Linked DNA regions of Homo sapiens: all the other regions are linked to region 1. The links are contacts of gene promoters, found by promoter capture Hi-C in human tissues and cell types (Jung and others, 2019). All regions are on one chromosome and are shown on one strand. Each heading gives the region's core, a stretch centred on a gene start or on the middle of the fragment in contact. The rest is flanking DNA. Distances are from core to core; before and after follow the strand shown.

The links. The method cuts DNA at HindIII sites, captures the fragments that hold promoters and counts their contacts. A contact is called where the count stands out against the background at its distance.
Region 2: a fragment that was not itself captured here is called in contact with the fragment with the promoter of HP in region 1 in 1 of the 25 tissues and cell types used here (mesenchymal stem cells).
Region 3: a fragment that was not itself captured here is called in contact with the fragment with the promoter of HP in region 1 in 1 of the 25 tissues and cell types used here (dorsolateral prefrontal cortex).
Region 4: a fragment that was not itself captured here is called in contact with the fragment with the promoter of HP in region 1 in 1 of the 25 tissues and cell types used here (dorsolateral prefrontal cortex).

Annotation. Positions count from the first base shown.
Region 1 is chr16:72,053,163-72,056,249 of GRCh38, reverse strand. It overlaps HP (haptoglobin), which reads right to left and starts at 1,745. Exons shown (of 7, transcript NM_005143.5): 1 at 1,593-1,745; 2 at 7-89. The coding sequence starts at 1,597. The HindIII fragment of the contact is 10,372 bases long and covers 1-3,087 here.
Region 2 is chr16:73,189,346-73,192,378 of GRCh38, reverse strand. It overlaps a transcript of ZFHX3 not described here. Among named protein-coding and RNA genes, the nearest start is that of ZFHX3-AS3, 42 kb to the left of the region's middle. The HindIII fragment of the contact is 4,064 bases long and covers 1-3,033 here.
Region 3 is chr16:73,954,788-73,957,779 of GRCh38, reverse strand. No RefSeq gene overlaps it. Among named protein-coding and RNA genes, the nearest start is that of PSMD7-DT, 260 kb to the left of the region's middle. The HindIII fragment of the contact is 3,438 bases long and covers 1-2,992 here.
Region 4 is chr16:73,867,394-73,870,281 of GRCh38, reverse strand. It overlaps a transcript of ZFHX3 not described here. Among named protein-coding and RNA genes, the nearest start is that of PSMD7-DT, 350 kb to the left of the region's middle. The HindIII fragment of the contact is 3,836 bases long and covers 1-2,888 here.

The sequences.
Region 1 (3,087 bases), core at 496-2,995:
ACTGACCTGCGATATCCGTGACATCATTGCCTGAGTCCACTGCAAAAAGCTGTCCCCAGAGCAGGAGGGCAATGACAGCTCCCAGGGCACTGCAGAGAGAAGACAAGGAGGAGTGGAAAGCTAGTCTCCCTGCTTCACAGCACATGCATGCATCCACACACACATGCATGTACACACACACACACACACATGCATACACACACACTCCTCCCACTTAGCAGCCAGAAAAGAAAGTCGATATATGGAAGTGCTAGGACCAAGAAATTGCCCCCACACCTGCCCATACACACTTTAGCAGCTTCTGAGCATACCAAGCTTCCAGCAAGCCCTGTCCTGCTGGGAATTCTGCAGAAGCTTCAGAGAGGGATAGAAAGGCACATAGGTGGAGGGGTGGGCTCAGTTTCTGGCTGCATTCAGGAAAGTACATTGGCAATAATACAGGAGCCCTCCAGGAAAGAGAAACCTCCCTCAGACACCGCAAAGATAGTGGTAATAAAATGTAGATAACTCAGAGATGGGAACTTTGGGCTTACTGTGCTATTCCTCTACTTCTTGATATTTTCCGTAATAAAAGGTTCCTTAAATATATAATTTTAAACACGTGGGTATTTCTAGTATTTTATAATAATTCACCTTTAGGAAATGGTATCTGAAACCCCAAAATGCCAGAAGGTTACCTGGAAGAGAACTGGTGTCCAAAAGCAGGACGGTGGCCATGGGCATTGACCCACAGGTGCCGTCTGCCAGTTCACCATCTCACTAACAAATGCCAACCATTCGGGCACTACTTGCTTCTATTAAAATAGTTTCTAGGCCAGACACGGTGGCTCATGCCTGTAATCCCAGCACTTTGGGAGGCCAAGGCAGGCAGATCACGAGGTCAAGAGATCGAGGTCATCCTGGCCAACATGGTGAAAGCCCGTCTCTACTAAAAATACAAAAATTAGGTGGGCATAGTGGCGCACGCCTGTAGTCCCAGCTACCTGGGAGGCTGAGGCAGGAGAATCACTTGAACCTGGGAGGTGGAGGTTGCAGTGAGCCGAGATCATGCCACTGCACTGCAGCCTGGTGACAAAGCGAGACTCCATCTCAAAAAAAAAAAAAGTTTCTAGTCTTATTATTTCAACATTTCAAAAAGTGTTTATTTTTATAAGATCTAAGTGCCTTAATTAGATGTATCCCAGGTATTAGTGTGTATCCCAGGTACTAGTCAATTAATTGTGTCATTCAAATGTGTTACTATTAGTCTTCCTTATTGTACATTTTTAAAGAGGAAAATATCTGCTAATAAATATACTCAGGATGCCAGGAAGCCTACCACGGGAGCTGATGACATACCCTATAAAGTCAAAAATGTAACCTGAAGGAAAAAGACACTCCTGAGAGTAAATCTTATCTCCTGGGAAAGACAGCAGCACTGTCTTCTATGGATGCAGAAAAGGAGAAGATTTAACACACTAAGCCCTTTGGTTCACTATAATTTAGCCCATTTGCCCGTTTCTTTGTTCTATTTCTGCATCTCTACCGATGTATGCAAAAAAGACTGAAATAAAGAACCAGAGGAAAGGCAGGAGGGAAAGCTGTGGACCCACCTCATCTTGGTTGGTCTTGCCTCTGGAAGAGCAGTGCTGTGGGGCATCTGCTGGTCTTTTTATGCTGCCACTAGCTCACTTCTCCCCCTTCTCCATTTCGTAATTCCTGTGTCTACAAACTTTGGCCCTGGTAAGGTCACTATCTTTTCCAGTAACAAAACCACAAACAATACCCCTGTTAAGAGTTGAGCTCTTGCTTCACACTTGATTTTCTTGTGATGTTCTATTACAAATCCCAAGAAACCTGGCAACTCTATGACCCACAAACCTGCCAAAGTATTTCCTGAAATCAGCAACTGGGCAGGACAGGGCGGCGGCAGGAACCATCAATCTGTCTCTTTATCTTGGAGGATTTTCACACTGCAGAAAGGCTCATTTTGAGTTTTTTCAAACCCATTGTAGACATTTCTGCAGCCTAGCTTAGGTGGGGCTCTAAAGAAAGTACTTCCTTTTCACAGTAATTTTCTCCACCTTGTGTGTGGCCATCTCCCTATTGCTTAAAAGCTCTCCAGCCTGAAATCAGTAAATGTGTTTATTGTGTCTTCTCTGATTGCTCTTTGCAAGAAATCACACAACTAGTTAAAGCTATAGTGTAGACTGACACAGACTATACTCAATGGCAGTGGTTCTCATGGTTTTATAGTCTGGTGATTAGCCTAAATAGGCAGATGAGAAAAATCAATATGTCTCAGTCAAATGTCTGCACCTGTGTGTATCCCAGGTACTAGTCAACTGAAACTTAGTAGCAACTCAATACAAGGTTGATTTATTCATTAAAAAGGGTTAGTTGTTCTTAAATTAGAGTGTACAAAAGAATTACTTTTGGATAATCATGGTGACACTGATATAATAGCAAAGTAACTAGAAACAAGACAAATGCCCATCAACAGGAGGAAGGGTCAATACTGCATTGTATGTGGATATAATGGAATATTATACAGCATAAAATGAATAAACTCTGCAAGAACATGGATCATCTTATAAACATAATTTTTGAAAGAAAACCGCAAGTTTCAGAAGATTACCTTCAGTATGATGGCAGTCTTCTAGAGATCAAAACCAAGTAAAACTTGGCAATGGATTCTTAGATAATGACACCAAAATCACCAGCAATCAAAGAAAAATTAGATAAATTGGGCTTCATCGGAATGAACATTTGTGTATCAAAAGACAGTATTAATAAAATGAAGACAGGCCAGGCGTGGTGGCTCACGCCTGTAATCCCAGCACTTCGGGAGGCTGAGGTGGGCGGATCATGAGGTCAGGAGTTTGAGACCAGCCTGACCAATGTGGTGAAATTCCATCTCTACTAAAAATACAAAAATTAGCCAGGCATGGTGGCGCATGCTTTAATCCCAGCTACTCGGAGGCTGAGGCAGGAGAATTGCTTGAACCTGGGAGGCAGAGGTTGCAGTGAGCCTAGATCGCACCACTGCACTCCAGCCTGGGTGACAGAACAAGACTCTGTCTCAAAAAAAAAAGTGAAGACAGTCTA
Region 2 (3,033 bases), core at 396-2,895, 1.1 Mb before region 1:
GAAATCCCAGGAAGCCAGGGCGGCGGGTGGTTTGGGTTTCAGCACCTCTCAATGCCTCATTTCAAACAGTCACTCTTCCTAAATTTTCATTCATTCCAAGGTCCTAAGAGAAGCATCCTGAACAGACGCAGAGGGGCAGGGAGGGCTTTGCAACGGCGGTGGGATAGGGTGTTTGGGGAGGAGATCAGTGGACATCTGATCCCAGGGGCTGAGACTTCCAGAGCTGGAGGGAAGGTAGCAAGTGAGGCTCATGTGCTAGTGCCAGGGAGGAAGGCACCCCTCTGTCCCCAGATCCCCTCGGAATAAGAAGAAAAGCAACCTGAATAGTTTTGCGTGAACCCCCCACCACACAGCCAAGTAGGGCGACTGAGCTGCTGCCAGCAGCACTTCTAACGGGGGAGGCCCAGGGTGCTGCATGTTTGATGTGTTTGGTGGGTCAGATTCCTCTTTGTGGAACCTTCCCTCTGCTCCCAACATATGTCCACTAAAGCGTGTTTGCACAGCATGAGGAGGCCTGGCCCCACCGCGGCTACAAGCCAGAGAGGCCAGCTTTTCTCCTTCCCCTCTTTTAAGAGATTCCCAGGGCAGCCCAGTGCAGGTACCTGACCCCAGACCACAGGGAATTCAGGGTTGTCTTCCCGCAGAAAAAAAAAAGAAATACAGCTCTGTATTGTCTCTGAAAGAGCCGTGGGTGAGAGGGGACCAGAGAGAGATCAGACTTACTGCCACTGTAAAGAAAAGGTGAGAATCTGGGGGGAAAAATCGAGTAGGATGGAGGTGACCAAACGGGAGGGGTTTGGTTTGGTTTTTTGTTTTTCTGCAGCATTTCCTCTTTTGGAGATCTAAAATCTGCAAGCGTTACGTCAAAGCTTTCTCCAAATGACTTGATGAGGGTTTTTCTGTTGTTGGGTTGTTGTACCCCCGGGACTCATTGGGATGGCAGGATAAAAATTAATTAGAGGCAGTTTGGAAGGGGCTTTGCAAGACAGCCTGAGGCTACGCTTCAGTCTGGTTGTTAGAAGCAATATCATCACCGCCTCCTTGCCCAGCGAACAGACCTGTGCTGGGGCGGCCGGGGGGAGCCACGGAACGTTCAACACAGACATCAGAGCCAAGACTTCCTCCCAGAGAGATTACTTACCACAAACCAGTGGATCTACCTGCTGACAACCTCAGAAATATGTCTTGTTTCATTTTCAGATTTTTAAGAGGGGTTGCATAGAAAGCCCACAGAATCCTGATGAAACAGCTCCTGCAGGAGGGGCTCTGCCTCTCCCACGCCTCTGAATATGACATCAGGCTGGGCAGAGCCACCACACAGCCACCAGGAAAGCAGGATCCTTTTCAGCCATGGATTTGGTCCCATTTTTAGGGGGTAGCAAACTAAAAAGGGTTTTTAGTAAGCCAACACGTTTCCCCTAACCAATGATTATTTCAAATTCCGGCAATTTACAAAAAAAAAAAAATCCAGTCCCTCTTCACCCTGGTCTCTATCCTTCTCCCTTTTCTTCCTTCGCCCTGTAGTCCCTCATGTCCCCACTCTGCTCTCCCCCACACATAATCCTCCTCTACCTGAGACACTGGTTCGGTGAGTGACCTTGGAGTCTGATTAATTGGAAACTGGCTCCTTAAATCCGGATAAAACGGTTCAAAGCATGATATCAGTGCTGGCATTTCATCAGCCACAACAAGTAGCTTTTCCAGCTGTGTATCTCACCCTGGAAATGGAGACAGAAAAGTGAACAGATGCCTGGGTCCCCTTCTTACGCACACCTTCACTGTCATGAAAGATCCTCTTCACTTATGTAATAGAGTGTGTCTGCAGGCCAGTGTAAAAATGTAAGCTAGTTTGTCCTTATAACATTTTCTATGATGCAAGCAATCATTAAGTTCCCTGTTTTATGGCTGGAAAAACTGAAATTGTTCTTCTTTCCCATGTCCAGAAAAAGGCAATCTATGTGTGAGCTCAAAGAAAACTTGGAAACTCCTAGTGCCTGTCCCCATTCTCTCTAAACTTAGCTGTGTCTTTTTTATTCCTATAATTGTTTCCTTGCATCATAGTGGGGATGGGGGTGGGCGAAGCCAATGGGAACAATTACCAAAGGAAAAACAGCAACTTCTTCCCCCACACAGCCACTTCCAAAATGAATTCACCAGCTGTGTAATACGAAGTCACACCATTACACATGTCAGCAGCTTCCTGCTTCCAAAGGTGCGTTCCTTAAGGTGAGTCTTAGTCCCTTGGCCTCAGATAAGGAGTGGTCAAGATGCTCACTCTATCTTATGAAGAAACAAAAAGACTTCTTCCTAGGGAGGCTCACCACTGACGCTGAGCACTTGGCTTCTTTCAAGAGTGGATGTGAGATGTTGGTGAGCCCATAACATCACCTCCATTTCTCAATTGTGTGTCTTTAGACTTTTAGTTTTTAATTTTTTTTTTAATTTTTTTAGAGATGAGGGTCTCCCTATGTTGCCCAGGCTGGTCTTGAACTCCTGGGCTCAGGTGACCCTCCTGCCTCAGCCTCCTAAAGCACTAGGATTACAGGCATGAGCCACCATGCCTGCCCAGTCCTTACACTTTCACCATACAGACAAGGAGGAGTTCCCGGTACACGGAGATGCTCATACCTTGTTGGTGAGCTCAGGGGGAATGCCCAAGACAACTCCTTCCCCATTTGCTCCCTACCAAAGAGAGGTGAAAGGAGAGATGCCAGGGCTGCCCTCAGAAACCACATCCAGCCTAAAGTGGGCATCAAGGAACATGGCTGCAAAAAGCAAAATCCTCTCCACTCACTGCTTCCAAAACTAACCAGTCTGCCTCAGAATCAATCTTCTGCTTTATAAGCAGCCGGCATATTTAGAACCATGGAAATTAAAGACGGAAAAGACCTATTAAGTCTTCTAGATCATTCCCTAGGGTCCAGTGCCGGCTCGTTCCCTGTAGTACATTTGTTATTGCTATGTCAGGCCTAATTTCAAGTGTCTCAAGCAATAAACGTAAAGGAAGCAATGACAGTGGCATCTGCCGACCCC
Region 3 (2,992 bases), core at 443-2,942, 1.9 Mb before region 1:
CTAGCCTAAGTTCTATGTACTTCTAGAATCTTAAAAACAATTATAGCCTTAGTTTCCATGGCTTGTGTTAGTTCTTTTAACAGACTCATGCTTTTAAATAAGATGTCTTGGGTCAAATTGAATTAGGAATGTTTTGTTGTTTTACAGTTTTATGGATGGTGTTTTATAAATGTCTCCTATTTCTTCTCAATCAGACTTCATAAAACTGCTTAAAAATCAACGAATTAGTTAGAAATCAAGTTAAAGTAATAACTTTTGATTTATCTGTCAAATATATTTTTCATGGGACTTAATCACCATTGTTTTTAAACAGAAACATTAAAATACAAAATGAGGCTTGTTTTTCATTTTTTAAAAAAGGAATCAGTAACACTTGCAATGTGTAAACATTGTTCTCTGGTAAATTATAATCAGATTGCTGTTGGATTACATGTACATTGTGCTAATGCTCAAAGATTTTTTTCTAGTGATGTCATTACAGGGTATGAGTAGACAGGATCTGTCACTATTAAAAGAGACTGTGCTAACAATTCGCTGCAGAGCAAGGGTTACCCCAAGTAACAAGGGGTAACTTGATTGGAGTAGGATTGGTTAGAATTTGTAAAGACGCACTTCTTTGTATTGAGACGAACTTTTATATGTTATATCCTAACTCCTTCCAGGTCAAGAGTCATTAAACACAGAGCATTTTATTCATTTAAAGAGTATCTTCAGTGCCGCCAAATACAGCTCTGTGTACCATTGACTTTACAATAGGATCAAATGATAGAAAAGTTGAGCCTCGCAGAAGAAAGTTTTTCTCTTTGTGCATGCCTCTGTTATCATTGTAAAGATAAAATAAGAAGTGAATGGTCACGCAAACGGGTTTTAAAGCAGATGCTTTTTATTTCATACTCTTTCTTCCTGTTTTTTACTCCACTATGGTGAATGCCTTTGGACTGGTTTTCATTGAAAGAGGACAGGAGGCAGCTGTGATTCTGATGTGTCCACTAGTGGGCACTGCAGTGCTTCTAACGTTCTGTATATTTTAAAATCTGGGCACAGGATAAAAAAATCGTATAGTGAATGGTGAGTTTCCGCCCCTTCAGAGCTTCTGTCCTGTCAAAAAGACACCAAAAATACACTTGGAAGATTATATCTACTTAAATTATTTACTAAAATTTTAGAACAAAATAGCATGCTTGAGATTGTGCCTCAGTTTTTTGCTGGCATTCATTTATATTTGTGAATTGTCACATTTATTCTTGTTTGACAGGCATACACTTTGAAGTCCACATTATGCAAAAAAGGAAAGGTACGTAATGCCAGAGTCCAAATTAACAATATTTATTAGGAGAAAATCCTGCCTTTTCCTATTAAAGAAAAACATTTAACAGGGTTGGTTTATGTAATTTTGAGCAAGAAGCAGTGCAGTTGTGGCTAAGATGTCTATTTGATATTTAGGGAAGAATTTGATGCTTTAATAAGGGAATCCTCCGTCTCCCTCATCCATCATCCACCATCCTCATCCATCCAAACACCACTGTAAATTTGTCAGAGCCTTTTCCATATTCAGTACTTGTATAAATAATGGCTGCTGTGCTTTGAAAAAAGGGAAATGTACGTTTTCCAGCTATGTTATATATCTGATCACAGTCATGGAGACATCTCATAGTTTTTGTTTTGCATTGCTCGGCCTCGGTGCATATAATTTAAGCCCCAGAGCCAGAGGACATTTTTGTGTGTCGACTCTTATTGTGGTTAGTACTTGCCAAAATGAAATTGGTTTCTTTTTTTGCGGGGAGGGTGGGTGCGGCGGTGCAGAGGGGAGCGTTCCTACAGCAGAGGAAACACAGCTCCTGCTCCATTACTACGCTTTTATCATTGCCCATCGCTTCTCCTTCTCTCCTTTGCTATCTTAGGGATTATGCGGGTTCTCTGCAATATTCTGAAATTAATCAAAGCAAGCAAAACCCCATGCCTTATTATCCATCACGGGAAGAGAGTGGTTTCCACAATCCAGACGGCTTTGTGATGTTGTCCAGTTGTGTAACTAGAATTTTATTATCTTTTAAAAGAAGCTTCTGGTTTTTATACAATGAAATCTTTTCATGTTTAACTTGTACGAGCGATGGATCGCTCCATGTGAGTATGACAAAGGATATGAATTTAACCAATAGGCTGTTTCTCTTATTTAAATAAGAAACTGATCTGTGAACAATGTCTATTTCTTTCTTTGATTTTTAGCATAGCAGAACAGCTGTATGTCCCTAATGTAGTTTGGGTCATAAAAGCTTTCTATGCAATGAGATAGGAACAAACTTACAGGATGCTTATCTGGACCTTGTGTTCTATCTCATCTTTTTATAATCATGCTCTACAAATTATTGTTTCCCACTAAATTGGTGGCCATTGTACAGATTGCAGACACTTAGTTTGATTGAAAGTAATAAAAGGAGATTATCCACTGAGTTGGTTGAGTGAAGGTTCTGATATGACCCACTGCCTAGAGTGAAAAGAATTAATCTTATAAACCCGACTCACTTCTGCCATGCTTTGAAAAACCGCCAGGAATGCATTAGACCCTTTTTGTCTTTAGTCCACTGAAAGCTAAAGGTGGGTGGGGCAGACCTGATGTAGAAACCAAATAGGCCATGGCCTGAGTGTTATGCTTTGAGTGGCATCTTGAACTGTGGTGGGGTCTTTTTTTCTTGCTCCCTGAATGATGCATTTCTATCACGACAATCTTGGGGGAGAAGGAGTGTAGTTTTTATTTAGTAGGTGTATATATATTATTCTTTGTGCCAGGCACTGTTTTATATTCTAGGTTTAGAATCAAAACTTATTTTTGTATGTTATCATGAAATAGAATATTATTATGCCAACTTGAAGAGTGTGGAAACAGGTATAAGGAAGTATAGTGCAGGGTCCTACAGCAAATAGGTAGATGACCTGAGATTCAAATCCAAGCTATCCCCACACCCCCATCAAAGCACTTTCTTGTAAATATCAT
Region 4 (2,888 bases), core at 90-2,589, 1.8 Mb before region 1:
ACTTGGATGGCTTGTCTAATGCCCAGTGGTACGGGGGAGATTCTCTCGAGGTCCCTGAATTGCACACAATGCAAACAGCAAACCTTGATTGTATGTAAATTGATTATGAGGGACCTATCTTTCTTTATCCCTAAAGATGACATATAACTAGGTTTCTAGTGAGGAAGATGGAAAAGATGAAATTTTGACCTTCCTACGTATACTCTGTATTCAGAAATAGCTCAATAAAGAGTCAAAGGTTTTCTTTTCCAAAGATTCAAGAAGCTTTATTAAACTACTTTATTCCCAGTTAGAAGCTTGACACTGAGAGAAGATACACGAGAATTGGACTGAATGAAATGAATGTTTATTGAGCATCTGCTTTGTTCCAGGCACTGTCCTGGGGCCCCAAGATTCCACATATAAGAGACTTAATCTCTGTCTGTAAAAAACTTGCTAAAGCAGGAGACCGCTACCTCCCTCTAAATAAACAGGAAGCCCGGTTAAACATTATGAAGTTCCTTTTGGTTTCTCTCTAAGTCTTATGTATCATGAATACTGTTACCTCCACAGCTTTATATTGGGGTAGTTGGCTTCAGTAGGTCACATACCAGAACTTATAGATAGAAACAAGTTAAAAGCTGCCTAGTTTTTATTTTCTGTCCCAGTATATATGTAAGCGCCTATTTCTTTCCCATGATAATCCTTAAATACAGTCATGCAAATACACAAATAAGTTATGTATGTATATCCTGCGTTTTCTAAAGCATTTCTCCAGTTATCTTTTGCATGGGCAATCCCTTTGTAGTAGAGTGTATTTTATCTATGGTGCATAAACAGTTAGCCTTTTGCCTGTGTAACTTTTGCTTGAAGACAGTTCTCTGCAGTTGCTTAGCGTTTGTGGTATTGACATAATTCATTCTCAGCTGATAAGTTTTAGCCCTTTTCCTTCATCAAATGGCATCTAAAATTTAGCTAAACATTCCCTCTGTGTTTACTCTTCAAGTTGATTTGGGTGGTCGGGGCTGTTTGCTTATTCATGAGTCATATTTAAAATGCTGTCTTTTCTAAAACACCCTGTAGGTTGCTCTACTATGAATTTGCAGCTCTGCGACCAACTGTGTTTCAAAAGTTGTACAATTTATGTGTGCCTTGACCAGGATAAGGTTTTTAAAAGAGTGTTGTGAACATGACTAGCTACTGGGGAGGTTAATGTGACATATTCTTAAAGAATAGTGACCTGGACAAATCCCGCCAGAGCACTCACTGGACCTTTCCTCCTAGTTTAAATTGATCAGGACAACATTGACCATTTTTGAAGGGGACAAGTTCCAAGGCAAGGAAATGGTGTAAAGAAGATTATGAAATCATGAGAAAGAATGAAAATGCTATTTTAAAAGCAGGTCAATAGCTGCTTTAAAGCCTTTAGATTATAAATTGATCATGCAGAGTATTGACATAAAAATATGGAGCTTGGCAATATGGCAGGACAAGAAGGAAAAGCTGCTCATTAAAAAAAGAAAGAAAGAAAGAAAGAAAGAAACCCTTCAGTGTACACTTAGTAATTTTGCACTGGGATAGCCTTTACATTTAAGTGAAAAAATTTCAGTTAATATGCTTAGGTTTTTTACAGTGTCTAAGGAGTTGTCCTTAAGGGGAAGTAAGTTTTGCGTTCACATGGTAAAATGCACAGCATACAACTTTCAGAGGGGGACAGAGGGAAGCTGTGGGAATGCCACTCAGCAACTGTTACATTGTTTAAATCTTTTTTGTTTGTTTGAGATGGAATCCTGCTCTGTTGCCCAGGCTGGAGTGCAGTGGCGTGATCTCCGCTCACTGCAACCTCTGCCTCCCAGGTTCAAGCAATTCACCTGTCTCGGCCTCCCGAGTAGCTGGGATTACAGGCACATGCCACCAGGCCCGGCTAATTTTTTTGTATTTTTGGTAGAGACAGGGTTTTGCCATGTTGGCCAGGCTGGTCTTGAACTCCTGACCTCAGGTGATCGCCTGCCTTGGCCTCCCAAACTGCTGGGATTACAGGCGTGAGCCACCCCACTTGGCCGCATTGTTGAACCTTGACTTCAGAGGGTGATGTGGACACTGTAGATTTCACCATCAGGTTTTCTATTGTCTGTATTCGTTATGGCTCTTTGTTACACATGCCGAAATGAACTCTGGGCTATTTAACGAACGGGGATTTATTGGGAGGAAAAGAAGAACAAAAAGCATCAACCAGAGACAAGAAGACCAGGTTTAGGGAGGGGCAGGAGAAGGGAGCTCCGAGGGCTGGAGGTATGAAGAAGGAAGCCTGGCACCCAGCGCTAGGGAGAATGGCCTGGTTGGCCGGCCCTCATTGCTGCTCTGATGAAAGACTCACCATGTTCTCACTGTTCTTGTGTTCAAGATGCAAAGTCCTTTGAGAGGACATCACCTTGGTCAAGCTGAGGCCACAGGCCCACCTCTGGGAAGTATCAGAACGCTGCCAATTCTCAAATGACAGTGAGGCACCTGAACCCACCTTCTCAGCAAGCCTAACCTAATGGAGGGGATACAATTATCTACAGATATCAGAGTGCATTTGGGAGGGGGAATGGGTACATCAGATGCCCAGAAAAACGATAGGTGTCCACTATACCTTCTTACTAAACATACTTATTAACTATCACAACTGTAAAGTGTTAAGTACCATGAGGATTAGTATAAACGAGAAAAGAACACTGGTCTGTAAGCCTGTTATTGTCAGTGGTCAAACTAAGAAGCACTAAGCCTAAAATATCGGGGAGAAACCCCACCTTGGCTTTGTCTGAGATTGTGATTGACTCCAAGTGAAGGTCACCTCCGTGGTCCTTTTGTGGTTCCCGTGATGCTGGGGAGCATCGGCTTTGCAAGTGGTGAGCAATCCACCTTAC